Linked DNA regions of Homo sapiens: region 1 is linked to region 2. Evidence: promoter capture Hi-C in human tissues and cell types (Jung and others, 2019). All regions are on one chromosome and are shown on one strand. The core of a region is centred on a gene start or on the middle of the fragment in contact, and the rest is flanking DNA. Distances in the headings are between cores, read along the strand shown.

The links. The method cuts DNA at HindIII sites, captures the fragments that hold promoters and counts their contacts. A contact is called where the count stands out against the background at its distance.
Region 1: a contact is called between a fragment that was not itself captured here and the fragment with the promoter of MPO in region 2, in 1 of the 25 tissues and cell types used here (lymphoblastoid cells).

Annotation. Positions count from the first base shown.
Region 1 is chr17:57,027,594-57,033,609 of GRCh38, reverse strand. No RefSeq gene overlaps it. Among named protein-coding and RNA genes, the nearest start is that of SCPEP1, 52 kb to the right of the region's middle. RefSeq lists a silencer at 5,515-5,715. The HindIII fragment of the contact is 3,545 bases long and covers 2,089-5,633 here.
Region 2 is chr17:58,276,603-58,283,044 of GRCh38, reverse strand. MPO (myeloperoxidase) reads left to right here and starts at 2,110. Exons shown (of 12, transcript NM_000250.2): 1 at 2,110-2,440; 2 at 2,586-2,679; 3 at 3,031-3,206; 4 at 3,399-3,522; 5 at 3,619-3,748; 6 at 3,831-4,037; 7 at 4,900-5,218. The coding sequence starts at 2,287. RefSeq lists promoters at 830-1,030, 1,076-1,301, 1,186-1,587, 1,980-2,120, 1,526-2,120 and enhancers at 1,160-1,177, 3,762-4,451, 6,419-6,442, 5,583-6,442. The HindIII fragment of the contact is 18,673 bases long and covers 1-6,442 here.

The DNA of each region.
Region 1 (6,016 bases), core at 2,612-5,111, 1.3 Mb after region 2:
TCCTAATTCAGATGAAAACAGGGCCTGGCTTGGGCTTTAGCCAATTAAAACAGGCTATGCTTCTACGAGCAGAGTTAAATGTGTTCCCAGAGAGTTGCCAGTGCCACTTTATTTTTGGTTACAGTTCTCTCAAGAGGACCTTTTAATAGCTCTTGAAGTAGGGGCAGTAATCCTTGGAAACAAGACAAACCAGTTTTCTCCCCTCTACCCCACAACTCCTTTTTGCCTTTACACTTGAAGCAACTAAATTAGAAGTTGGACGTCACGAATCCTATAGTTTTACTTGAAATTTCCTGCTGCTGACACTAATGTTTTCTTTTCTGTTAGAATCAGGAACACTTAAAAAGTCAAACCTCCTCGTGACCTGATCTCAAAGTACATTTGAAATTTTTTTTTTTTTTTTTTTTTGAGACGGAGTTTTGCTCTTGTTGCCCAGGCTGGAGTGCAGTGGCACGGTCTCGGCTCACTGCAATCTCCGCCTCCCAGGTTCAAGTGATTCTCCTGCCTCACCCTCCTCCTGAGTAGCTGGGATTACAGGCACCTGCCAGCACACCCAGCTAATTTTTGTATTCTTAATAGAGACGGGGTTTGACCATGTTGGCCAGGCTGGTCTCGAACTCCTGACCTCAGGTGATCTGCCAGCTCGGCCTCCCAAAGTGTTGGGATTACAGGCATGAGCCACCGTGCCCGGCCTGTAATGTTTTTTTCCCATGGCAACATTTCTCAGCTACTCTGGGCTTATGAAGAAGAGTATAACAATGCCTGTCCCAGTTTTAAAACCACATTGTATTTAGTCAGAATTAGGCATGGCTGTAAGTGGTAGAAAACCCAAACCAACAGTAGCTTAAGACAAAAATTTATTTCCATGTAAAGAGAGAAAAGGAGTACAAAGGTGGAATGGTGGCTCCAGTCCTCAAAATCCTCGGGGACCTCGGCTCATTCTAGCATATCTTCCTACCATGATCCCAAATGGTTGCATTCACATTCCAGCCAGCAAAATAAAAGAGGGTGAAAGGGAACAAAAGGTACACCAAAGGGGACGGTTTCCAGCTGCTGCCAGAACACTTCTGTTTATATCCCGGTGGCCAGAACGTAGTCACGTGGCCACACTTAACTGCTGGGAAATGTAGTATTTTTTTTTTTTTTTCTGGATCGCTGTGTGCGCAGTTAAAAATTCTGCCTCTATGCTATACACCCTAGGGCCTATGGTCTTAAAATTTACCAATTTCTATCAATTTTGCCTTGAGAATTTGAAACACCTCTTGAGATTACTAAATAACAATATAAGGTGGTATAAAATCAGTATCAGAAATACCCCCACTCTTTATAATATTTATACAACATTTTACCAGAATTTTGCTTTTGGGAGTCCATAGTAATTAAATAACTCTAAAACCAGAAAAAGCTTTAAGCAAAATAATGTTCATCACAGTTATTTATAATCAGAAAAACTGAAATGACACTTTGAGAGGCCCAGGTGGGCGATTGCTAGAGCCCAGGAGTTTGAGATCAGTCTGGGCAACATGGTGAAACCCTGTCTCTACAAAAAAAATTTAAAAAATAAGCCAGGCATGGTGGTGCACACTTGTAATCCCAGCTACTTGGGAAGCTGAGGTGAGAAGATCACATGAGCCAGGGATGTCGAGGTTGCAGTGAGCCAAGATGGCACCACTGCACTCCAGCTGGGTGACAGAATGAGACCCTGTCTGAAAAAAAAAAAAAAAAAGAAAAGAAAAACTGAAATTTGAATAAATGTCAAAATATGGAGGACTGGTCAGATGAAGTGTAGAACATTTTCTTAATGGAATATTATGTATCTGTTAAAAAATGATATTTACAAGGCCAGACACAGTGGCTCAGGCCTGTAATCCCAGCCCTTCAGGAGGCCAAGGCAGGAGGGTCACTTGAGGCCAGGAGTTCAACACCAGTCTGGGAAACAAAATGAGACTTTGTCTCTACAAAAAATTGAAAAATTAGCGGGGTGTGGTGGTGGCACCTGTAGTCCCAGCTATGCAGGAGGCTGAGGCAGAAGGATCACTTGAGCACAGAGGTTCAAGGCTGCTGTGAGCTATGACCATACCACTGCACTCTGTTCTCCAGCTTGGACAACAGAGCAAGACCTTCTCTCTTTAAAAAAAAATTATACTGACAAAGAACCCACAGTAACATAGATAAATTCTTATAATGCCCGTTAAATAAAAAATATAGGGATATGAATTAAGCCAAATGACTTTTTTGGGTAATGAGACTTTTAATAACTATTTTCCTACATTTCTTTATTTTCTAAATTTTGTTACTATTACACTTATTATTTTATTAGAAATAAAAAATATTGCTGGGCGTGGTGGCTCATGCCTGTAATCCCAGCACTTTGGGAGGCCAAGACGGGTGGATCACCTGAGGTTAGGAGTTTGAGACCGGCCTGGCCAACATGGTGAAAACTGTCTCTACTAAAAATATAACATTAGCTGGTTGTGGTGGCACATGCTTGTAATCCCAGCTACTCTGGAGGCTGGGGCAGAAGAATTGCTTGAACCCGGGAGGCAGAGGTTGCAGTGGACCGAGATGGCGCCATGGCACTCCAGCCTCGGCAACAAGAGTGAAACTCCATCACAAAGAAGGAAAAATAAAATAAAAAATATCCTATCCTCTAGTCTCTCTAGTTACCTACACTTTACCCATCTTTAGGTACCTACACTCTACCCATCTCTAGATACCTATACTCTACCCATCTCATAGAGCTCAGTTTAATCTGACCTCCTGTCCAAAAGCTTTTCTGGCCATTCCCTCTCTTCTGCATTATTGCTGACACCACTTGTAATGGGAAGTCATTTCTTTTTTTTTTTTTCTTTTTTTTTGGAGCGGGGGAAGAGCCTCACTTAGTTGTCCAGGCTGGAGTATAGTGGCATGATCGTGGCTCACTACCTTGACCTCCCAGGCTCAAGCGATTCTCCCACGTCAGCCTCCTTGAGTAGCTGGGACTATAGGTGCTCACCACCATGCCTGGCTAATTTTAAAAATTTTTTGTAGAAATGGGGTCTCCCTATGTTGCCCAGGCTGGTCTTGAACTCCTAGACTTAAGCAATCCACCTGCCTCAGCCTTCCAAAGTGTTGAGATTACAGATGTGAGCCACCGCGCCTGGCAAAACTCTTTTTTTTTTTTTGTCTTGCCAGCATCAGGCAGAATCCTCTGATGAGAAGCTATTGGGGCCTCAATGAGGTTATACCTTTCCTCTCTCTCCTCCTTGGTAGATACAGAGTAGTCCTGTAGACCCACTAATCAGATGCTCCAGCCCAGGAATTTGAATTGGTGGAAATAAATTTGTAGTCTACGTGGGCTTTGGATATTTGATGATACTAAGATATTTTTCACTTGGGGGGTAGTAGGGGAGTGATGATGGTATTATGGTTGTTTTTAAATTTTATTTTAAAAATGTAGGTGTTCAAGCCCAGCAGAAATGTCCTATCTCCCCATATATTGGAACCTAATTGCCTATGGGATAGTACTAAAGAAGTGGGGCTAGGGGCCAGGGGCAGTGGCTCACACCTGTAATCCCAGCACTTTGGGAGGCTGAGGCAGGTGGATCACCTGAGGTCGGGAGTTTGAGACCAGCCTGACCAACATGGAGAAAGCCCATCTCAACAAAAAATTAGCCAGGCATGGTGGAGCATGCTTGTAATCCCAGCTATTCTGGAGGCTGAGGCAGAAGAATCACTTGAACCCCAAAAGCAGAGGTTGTGGTGAGCTGAGATCGTGCCATTGCACTCCAGCCTGGGCAACAAGAGTGAAACTCCATCTCAAAAAAGAAAAAGAAAAAGAAATGGGACTGGCACAAGTGCCTCTTGCCTGTAATCTCAGCACTTTGGGCGGCCGAGGTGGGAGAATTGCTTGAAGCCAGAAACTTGAGACCAGCCTAGTCAAAATAGTGAGACCCTCTACAAAAAAATAATTAAAAAAAAAAAGAAATAGGGCCTTTAGGAGTGGTTAATGGGAGCGGAACCCTCATGAAAGGGCCCTCACCAGACACCAAACCTGCTGGCATCTTGATTTTGCACTTTCCAGACTCCAGAACTATGAGGAATAAATTTCTGTCATTTATAAATGCCCTAGTCTAAGGTAATTTTGTTATAGCAGCCGGAAAGAACTAAGACACTATGTAGCTTCAATGACACCAAACACAAGGCATTTAGAATAAAAAGGGTTTTCTTCTTCACAACGAAAGGAAAAACTCAGTACTTCACTTGTGACACCAGATGTGTGTGTGTAGCAGGGGTTCCTATACCAAGCAATTCTCCAATTCTCTGGAGATACCAGCTGGGTATCCTACAATTCAATTCAGTTCTGACATGATCTATCTGAAGTTAGTACCTACCCCACAGTCGGTTGCCAATCAAAAGTCCAGCTTGTCACCTGGTGCTTCTGACAGGCTATGAGTCAGAGGGTCCCATGATCCCTTTCTTGAGTTTAATCATTTGCTAAAACAGCTCACAGAACTCAGGTAATGTTTGTTAGTCCATTCTCACATTGCTATAAAGAAATACCTGATTGGGAGGCCGAGGTGGGCGGATCACGAGGTCAGGAGATCGAGACCATCCTGGCTAACACGGTGAAACCCCATCTCTACTAAAAATACAAAAAATTAGCCAGGCGTGGTGGTGGGCGCCTGTAGTCCCAGCACTTCGGGAGGCTGAGGCAGGAGAATGGCATAAACCCTGGAGGCAGAGCTTGCAATGAGCCGAGATCGCACCACTGCACTCCACCCTGGGCAACAGAGTGAGACTCCGTCTCAAAAAAAAAAAAAAAAAGAAATACCTGAGACTGGGTAATGTGTAAAGAAAAGAGGTTTAATTGGCTCATGGTTCTGCATGTTATACAGGTAGCATGGTGCTGGCATCTGCTCGGCTTCTTGGGAGGCCTCAGGAAACTTACAGTCATGGTGAAGGTGAAGGGGGAGCAGGCACCTCACATGGCCAGAGCAGGAGCAAGAGAGAGACTGAGGTGCTGTGAGAGGTGTTTGAACCAGAACGACTCCATCTTGAATAGGGACTGGATGAAATAAGGCTGAGACCTTCTGGGCTGCATTCCCAGGAGGTTAAGGCATTCTTAGTCAGAGGATGAGACAGGAGGTCAGCACGAGACACAGGTCATAAAGACCTTTCTGATAAAACAGGTTGCAGTAATAGGAGGCACCACAGATCCCATTTGGGGAAAAATGTCTATTGTCTTCATGGAAACCCAGGAAATAAAAGTGGGTAGATTCCTCTCAAAATCTAAGGCTTTGTCCTGTTTTGCATTGCATTATCTGATATTTTTAACTTTTTGGGGTATCAGAAATTACTTTACATTATTAGAGAGCTTTGGTATAAGCTTTACCTAGTATAACAACTGGGTAGGAATATACTTTTGGGGATAGCTAATGGCAGTTATGGGGGAATACGTGGCTCTTTGCATGTTTGCATTAGAGAAGCATGCTCTTGACTACCTAGAAGGTATGGAAATGACCCCACCCCCACTGAGAGATAAGACTCCCATGGGAGATGGGCTGAATCTCTCTTTTGGGGATCCAGGATCTGGATCTGGGACCCTTAAATTTTGGGAATCTGTTTTGTTTCCAGCTGTGCCTACTTATTAGGCTGTAGAAATGGCATGCTTTCCTGGCTGTGTTCCTCCAAGGGCTCCACCCTGAAGCCAGTAATCCAATTAAGAAACTGGCAAATGAAAAATCTTTCAACTACTGGATCTTCTTCTGTCTTTGTATTTATATGTGTTATGTGTATAATGTTTCTATATGAAAGAGCTTTGATTAATTGGCTTAAAAATAATAAGTGCTTAAATCAAATATTTTGTCAGAAAAATAAAAACTTTAATGCCTTTTGGTTCACATGACTTTAGTAAGCTTTGGGAAACACAGTTTTAAAGATTATTGGTAAAACAAAAATGTTTTCAAAATTTAGGCATTTGGTCTAAATTATGCAGGTCAGGTATTAGGTTTGCTTAATGCTTTAAGGTCATAAA
Region 2 (6,442 bases), core at 861-3,360:
CAATATTTAAAAATATATATTATGTTTACATATAGGATATCAAATTCTTAAATGAGGTATTGGTGAGTGGTGGGATTATGGGCAATTATTTTCCTTCCTATTGTTTATTTATGTGAAGACAATGATAAACCTTGAAAGAAAAAAGTACCCACAATCTCACTTGATGATGAGTAATTTTGATTTATTTTTATTTTTGCATACTCGTGTTCTCAAACTTTTCATCAGTGAAAATTATATTACTTAAAGGATTGAAAAATCATTTCCAAAAGCCTCTAAAATTCTAGAGCTTGATTCACAAAGAGCCACTCGACCAACTTCACACACAGCAAGTCACTGGCAGGGCAAAAGCTTGGTTCCCCTTCTCAGCAGGGGACAGAATCCCTGGACACACTGGGAAGATATTCTGGGTGTTGCTGTCCCTTGTCCCTTGGCCAAGAGGTGGTCTGGGCATAGAAGACAAGAGTGGGCCGGGCGCGGTGGCTCACGCCTGTAATCCCAACAGTGGGTGGATCAGGAGGAGGTCAGGAGTTTGAGACCAGCCTGGCCAACATGTTGAAACCCCATCTCTACTAAAAATACAAAATATTAGCCGGGCATGGTGGCGGGCGCCTGTAATCCCAGCTACTTGGGAGGCTGAGGCAGGAGAATTGCTTGAACCCAGGAGGCAGAGGTTGCAGTGAGCCGAGATTGCACCACTGTACTCCAGCTCCGCCAACAGTGAGAGACCCTGTCTCAAAAAAAAAAAAAAAAAAAAAGAGTGGGTGGCGGGAAGGTGGCTGAAGGTAGGAGGGGGAACCTAAATGGGACATGGGAGGCATGGTTGGCACGAGCTCAGCCTGACCAGGGCCCAGAGAGGTAGACTGATTCAGTCAAAAGTCGTAGTACTTTTCCTGCTGAGATTGGTGGCCCTTTTGCTGGGCTTTCTCAAGCAAGAAATATCCTCTTCTGTTTCAGAATTATTCTGAATCATTAACCCAAGTCCTCCCAACTGCACTGATCCTGTCCCAGAGAGGCCCTGGGCTGCATCACCTAACTGATCACTAACCACAACCAGTTCTGCTCTCTCCTGGTTCCTGAAATCCAGGAGCAGATGGTGGTGGGGAGGAGGAGTTTGGAGACAGCCCTCTACCAGAAGCCAAGAAGAAAGGGGAGTGAGGAGGGATAGAGGAAGTTATCTTGGTCCTGCGCCCACAGTCCCCAGGGTCCTCCTTCCTGTGAAGCCCAACGGTCTCCAGCCAGATTTCCTGTCCCCTTAGCCCCACCAAGAACCAGAGGCTGCCCATTGGGTGGCTGTTGGATGCAGGTTACTGTTGGAGTGGGGGATGGCCACCTGAGGCCAATTGGGTCATCTTTACTCCAGGTCTCCCTTTCATCCTCCTGTCTTCCCTGGGGGCACTCTATTCCCTGCAATTCCTTGGGCTACCAGTTCCTGACTTTTGTTCCTTTCAAAGGAACCCTGGATAACCAGTGTAACCAGAATTTCAGAGGGGTTAGTTGTGTGTATCCCCTGGGGACAAGCACTGGTATAGGCACACAATGGTGAGCTGAGAAATCTTGGGCTGGTAGTGCTAAATTCAAAGGCTGGGGACAGGCTGGGGCCAGTGGCTCATGCCTGTAATCCCAGCACTTTGGGAGGCTGAGGCGGGTGGATCACTTGAGGTCAGGAGTTCAAGACCAGCCTGGCCAACATGGTGAAACCCTGTATCTACTAAAAATACAAAAATTAGCTTCTTGCCTAAGGAAAAATACAAAAATTACTTCTTGCCTAAGGAAATAATTGATGATGTGGCTAGAGGCTAGGGCGTGGTGGCGGGCACCTGTAATCCCAGCTACTCGGGAGGCTGAGGCAGAAGAATCGCTTGAACCATTGCACATCAGCCTGGGCAACAGAGCAAGATAACGTCTCAAAAAAAAAAAAAAAAAAGGCTGGGGACAATGCTGGCCCCTCCTTTCCTGCCCCTTCCCCCCATTTCAGGGGCCCCTCTGTGTGTACCTTCCAACCCCAGTGGGGGAGGAGAAAGAGTTCAGTCTCCAGGATCAGACCTTCCTCTACCTCACCCCACCCCCAGCTTAGAGGACATAAAAGCGCAGATTGAGCTAAGAGGAGCTGACAATATCAGGTGAGCTGTGGAGGTGGGGTCCTTGGAAGCTGGATGACAGCAGCTGGCAAGGGGATAAGAGAGCAGTGAGCCCCTCCCTCAAGGAGGTCTGGCTTTATCCATAGACAGGGCCCTCTGAGGTGGGGCTGAGGTACAAAGGGGGATTGAGCAGCCCAGGAGAAGAGAGATGGGGGTTCCCTTCTTCTCTTCTCTCAGATGCATGGTGGACTTAGGACCTTGCTGGGCTGGGGGTCTCACTGCAGAGATGAAGCTGCTTCTGGCCCTAGCAGGGCTCCTGGCCATTCTGGCCACGCCCCAGCCCTCTGAAGGTGCTGCTCCAGGTAACAGTTCCCAAGGTGGGAGAAGATGGTGTGTTGGGGTGGTTGTGTTCCAGAGACCCCTTTTCTCAGAGCAGGCCTTCCTAGCTCTGGGGCCTGATAGGGGGTTGGGGCCCATTCCTGACTTTGTGATCCCTGCTCTGGGCAGCTGTCCTGGGGGAGGTGGACACCTCGTTGGTGCTGAGCTCCATGGAGGAGGCCAAGCAGCTGGTGGACAAGGCCTACAAGGAGCGGCGGGAAAGGTGGGGCACGAGGCACTGCCCAGCTCTGGGCAAGGATGTCCCAGGCCTTTCAGAGAAGCAGCAGGCAGCAGGGAGCTTGAAGGTGGGAGAGGGGGACTATGGGGACCCATGTGGACTCCCTTTCTGTCTGTCTGTCCCTGTGTTTCTGGATGGGAGAACAGCTTAAAAGCCATCCTTCCCAAAGCCTTGCCTCTGTCTGGACACCCAGGTCCATATCCTTTTTATAAAAGGAAGCCTTCCTCCCACCCGTGGGCCTGCCTGCATGGTCCTGCATGTCTGCCCCTGGGCTGGGGCTCTGCTGGGTGGGTCTGTATCCCTTCTCTGGCCCTCACTCCTCCTTTCTCCAAGCAGCATCAAGCAGCGGCTTCGCAGCGGCTCAGCCAGCCCCATGGAACTCCTATCCTACTTCAAGCAGCCGGTGGCAGCCACCAGGACGGCGGTGAGGGCCGCTGACTACCTGCACGTGGCTCTAGACCTGCTGGAGAGGAAGCTGCGGTCCCTGTGGCGAAGGCCATTCAATGTCACTGGTACTGTTGCCCATCACACCCCAGGTCCCTGCTCCACTAGTGACTCCTCCTAGGGACCCCAGCCGTCTCTCAGTGATCCCCTCAACTTCTTCCTCCAGGGAGTCTCAGGAGTCTCCAGGGCTCCTCAGCCTCAGGTTGCCTGGGATAGGAAGTGAGGCGGCTCAGCTCCCCCATTGTTCTTTCCCCCGGCAGATGTGCTGACGCCCGCCCAGCTGAATGTGTTGTCCAAGTCAAGCGGCTGCGCCTACCAGGACGTGGGGGTGACTTGCCCGGAGCAGGACAAATACCGCACCATCACCGGGATGTGCAACAACAGGTGCGGCTGGCTGGGGGTGGCTGCAGGAACCGGGCTCAGAGAGGCGTCCCGGACGCCACAAGCCTCCCGGTGTCAGCGCCCTGTCCTCCCCTGCAGACGCAGCCCCACGCTGGGGGCCTCCAACCGTGCCTTTGTGCGCTGGCTGCCGGCGGAGTATGAGGACGGCTTCTCTCTTCCCTACGGCTGGACGCCCGGGGTCAAGCGCAACGGCTTCCCGGTGGCTCTGGTGAGCGCCGGCGGGCAGAGGGGGCGAGGCCCGGCCACGCGGTGCGCGGACCCAGGCGCCAGCTGATCTCCGTGTCCCGCAGGCTCGCGCGGTCTCCAACGAGATCGTGCGCTTCCCCACTGATCAGCTGACTCCGGACCAGGAGCGCTCACTCATGTTCATGCAATGGGGCCAGCTGTTGGACCACGACCTCGACTTCACCCCTGAGCCGGCCGCCCGGGCCTCCTTCGTCACTGGCGTCAACTGCGAGACCAGCTGCGTTCAGCAGCCGCCCTGCTTCCCGCTCAAGGTGGCCCTGCTTCCCGCCCACTGCCTGGGTTGGGAGAGGGGAGATTGTTTCTGGAAGGGGCCATCTCCCTTCTGTGCCCAGGTTTCCTTTCCCAGACGCTGAGGAAGGCTGGCCCTGCCTCCCTTGTGTCCACAGCACTGGCTGCTCAGCTATGACCTGTCTCCTTCCTGCGCCTGGGCTCAGCCAGCTGGCAGCCAGGGCCGTCCATTTGCTCACTGCCTCTGGCAGGCCAAGGGAGAGAGGGTTGTTCCTCCTTGGCTGACAGGAGTCCTGTTGGTGGAATCACTGGCTCTTTGTTAGGTTGGGAGAGGGTTCTGGGAGGAGACCTTCTCAGTGCCCCCCAAGCCTCCATGCTCAGTCCTGTTTCCGCCCCACTGAGAGGGCAGCCCCAACCCCCATCACACAGAAAGAGAGAGCCTGGGGGTCTGGTGGGTGCCGTGGGACAGGGCTGGGAGTGGGCAGGGTGGTCGAGGCACTGCTGAGTAGGGAAGGAGGAGGAGAGAAAGGAGAGAGCGCCTGAGAGAGGGAGAGACAGACAGGAGAATGTCAGGGCCAGAGGGAGAGCAGGCACAGCAGAGAGAAGGGGAGAGAGACGGGCGACGCTTTAGTGAGGAGGGATCCGAGGCCTGGCGGTGCCCAGACCCAGGGGTTGCCCAGGTTCCCAGTTCAGTGTTCTGCTCATTAACCCTGCACCTCAGAGGCTGTTGCTGATGGCGCCCTAGGCAGCGATCCCTTTCGGGCCTCCGGAGGCCTCTCTGCAGGTTGAGGGTACCAGAGGTCCTGAGGGCAGGGGGAGATCCAGTTCTGCCTGGGCACCTTCCTTGCCCTCGGTGAGCCAGTCTAGCCTCTCTCTGTGCCTCAGATCCCGCCCAATGACCCCCGCATCAAGAACCAAGCCGACTGCATCCCGTTCTTCCGCTCCTGCCCGGCTTGCCCCGGGAGCAACATCACCATCCGCAACCAGATCAACGCGCTCACTTCCTTCGTGGACGCCAGCATGGTGTACGGCAGCGAGGAGCCCCTGGCCAGGAACCTGCGCAACATGTCCAACCAGCTGGGGCTGCTGGCCGTCAACCAGCGCTTCCAAGACAACGGCCGGGCCCTGCTGCCCTTTGACAACCTGCACGATGACCCCTGTCTCCTCACCAACCGCTCAGCGCGCATCCCCTGCTTCCTGGCAGGTCAGCTTTGGGGTGGGGACCAGAGGTGGCATAGGAGATGTTCCCTGTTGGAGCCACAGTGAGTCTGTTTGTGAGCAGCTTGTGGGTTTGTACTTAGAGAGACTGTCCTCACCAGCCATTACTATCAACTTCATGATATTAATCCAGTTGCCTTGGTAACAAGTCAGATGGAGCCAGAAAAGCAGAAAAGCAAACAACCTCTCCAACCCTAAGATGGAGACCCAGGCATGGCTGAGGAGCCTCTGTCCATCAGTCCATTGCTTTCTCTGTCCCTTTTTTCCCTTCTGGACTCTGGAAGACAAGAGAGTCAAATCCCTCAGGGGCAGGGAACTAAAGGACAGAGAACGCTGTGGTGCCCTCACCCTCTAGAGCGACACTATCCAATGTGGTAGCCACTAGCTGCATGTGGCTATTTTAATTTTAGTTATTTTAAATTAAATAAACCCAGTTTCTCAGCGGTGCTAACCACATTTCAAATGCTCAATTGCCTTACAGTCTAGTGGCTCCCCCTATTGGGTGGCACAGATGTAAAATATTTTCATCATCTCGGAAGGTTGAGTTGGACCACACTGCTCCAAAATATCCCCTCCTGCGCATCTTAATTACCCATAATAAGAGATGATGGGATTTTAAATGTAAACAATTGGCAGTTTTGGAGACACAATTGGGGCAGTGATGGCAGCCATGACCAGACATTTTCCAGTGTTTTTTTTTTTTCTAAGACGGAATCTCACTCTGTCACCCAGGCTTGAGTACAGTGGCACAGTCTCGGCTCACTGCAACCTCTGCCAACTGGGTTTAAGTGATTCTTCTGCCTCAGCCTCCTGAGTAGCTGGGACTACAGGCGCCTGCCACCACACTTGGCTAATTTTTTGTATTTTTAGTAGAGATGGTGTTTTACCATGTTGGCCAGGCTGGTCTCAAACTCCTGACCTCATGATCTGCCCACCTTAACCTCCCAAAGTGCTGGGATTACAGGTGTGAGCCACCGCACGCAGCCATTTTCCAGTGTTTTTAAATGTAAACCCAATAGTGGACCTCAGGCCCTTTCCTCTGGCCTCCCTCTGCCTCCTCCTGATGGTTCCTGCTGGTCTCTCCCTGGCTGGGACCCTGGGAGGAGGATCCAGGTCGGACTTTCTGCAAGAGATGCCCGACCTCTTCTGGGCTAGTTAGGCAAGGGCAGCCCTCCTTAGCCAGACTCAGCTGCCCACAGCCTGGCTTTGA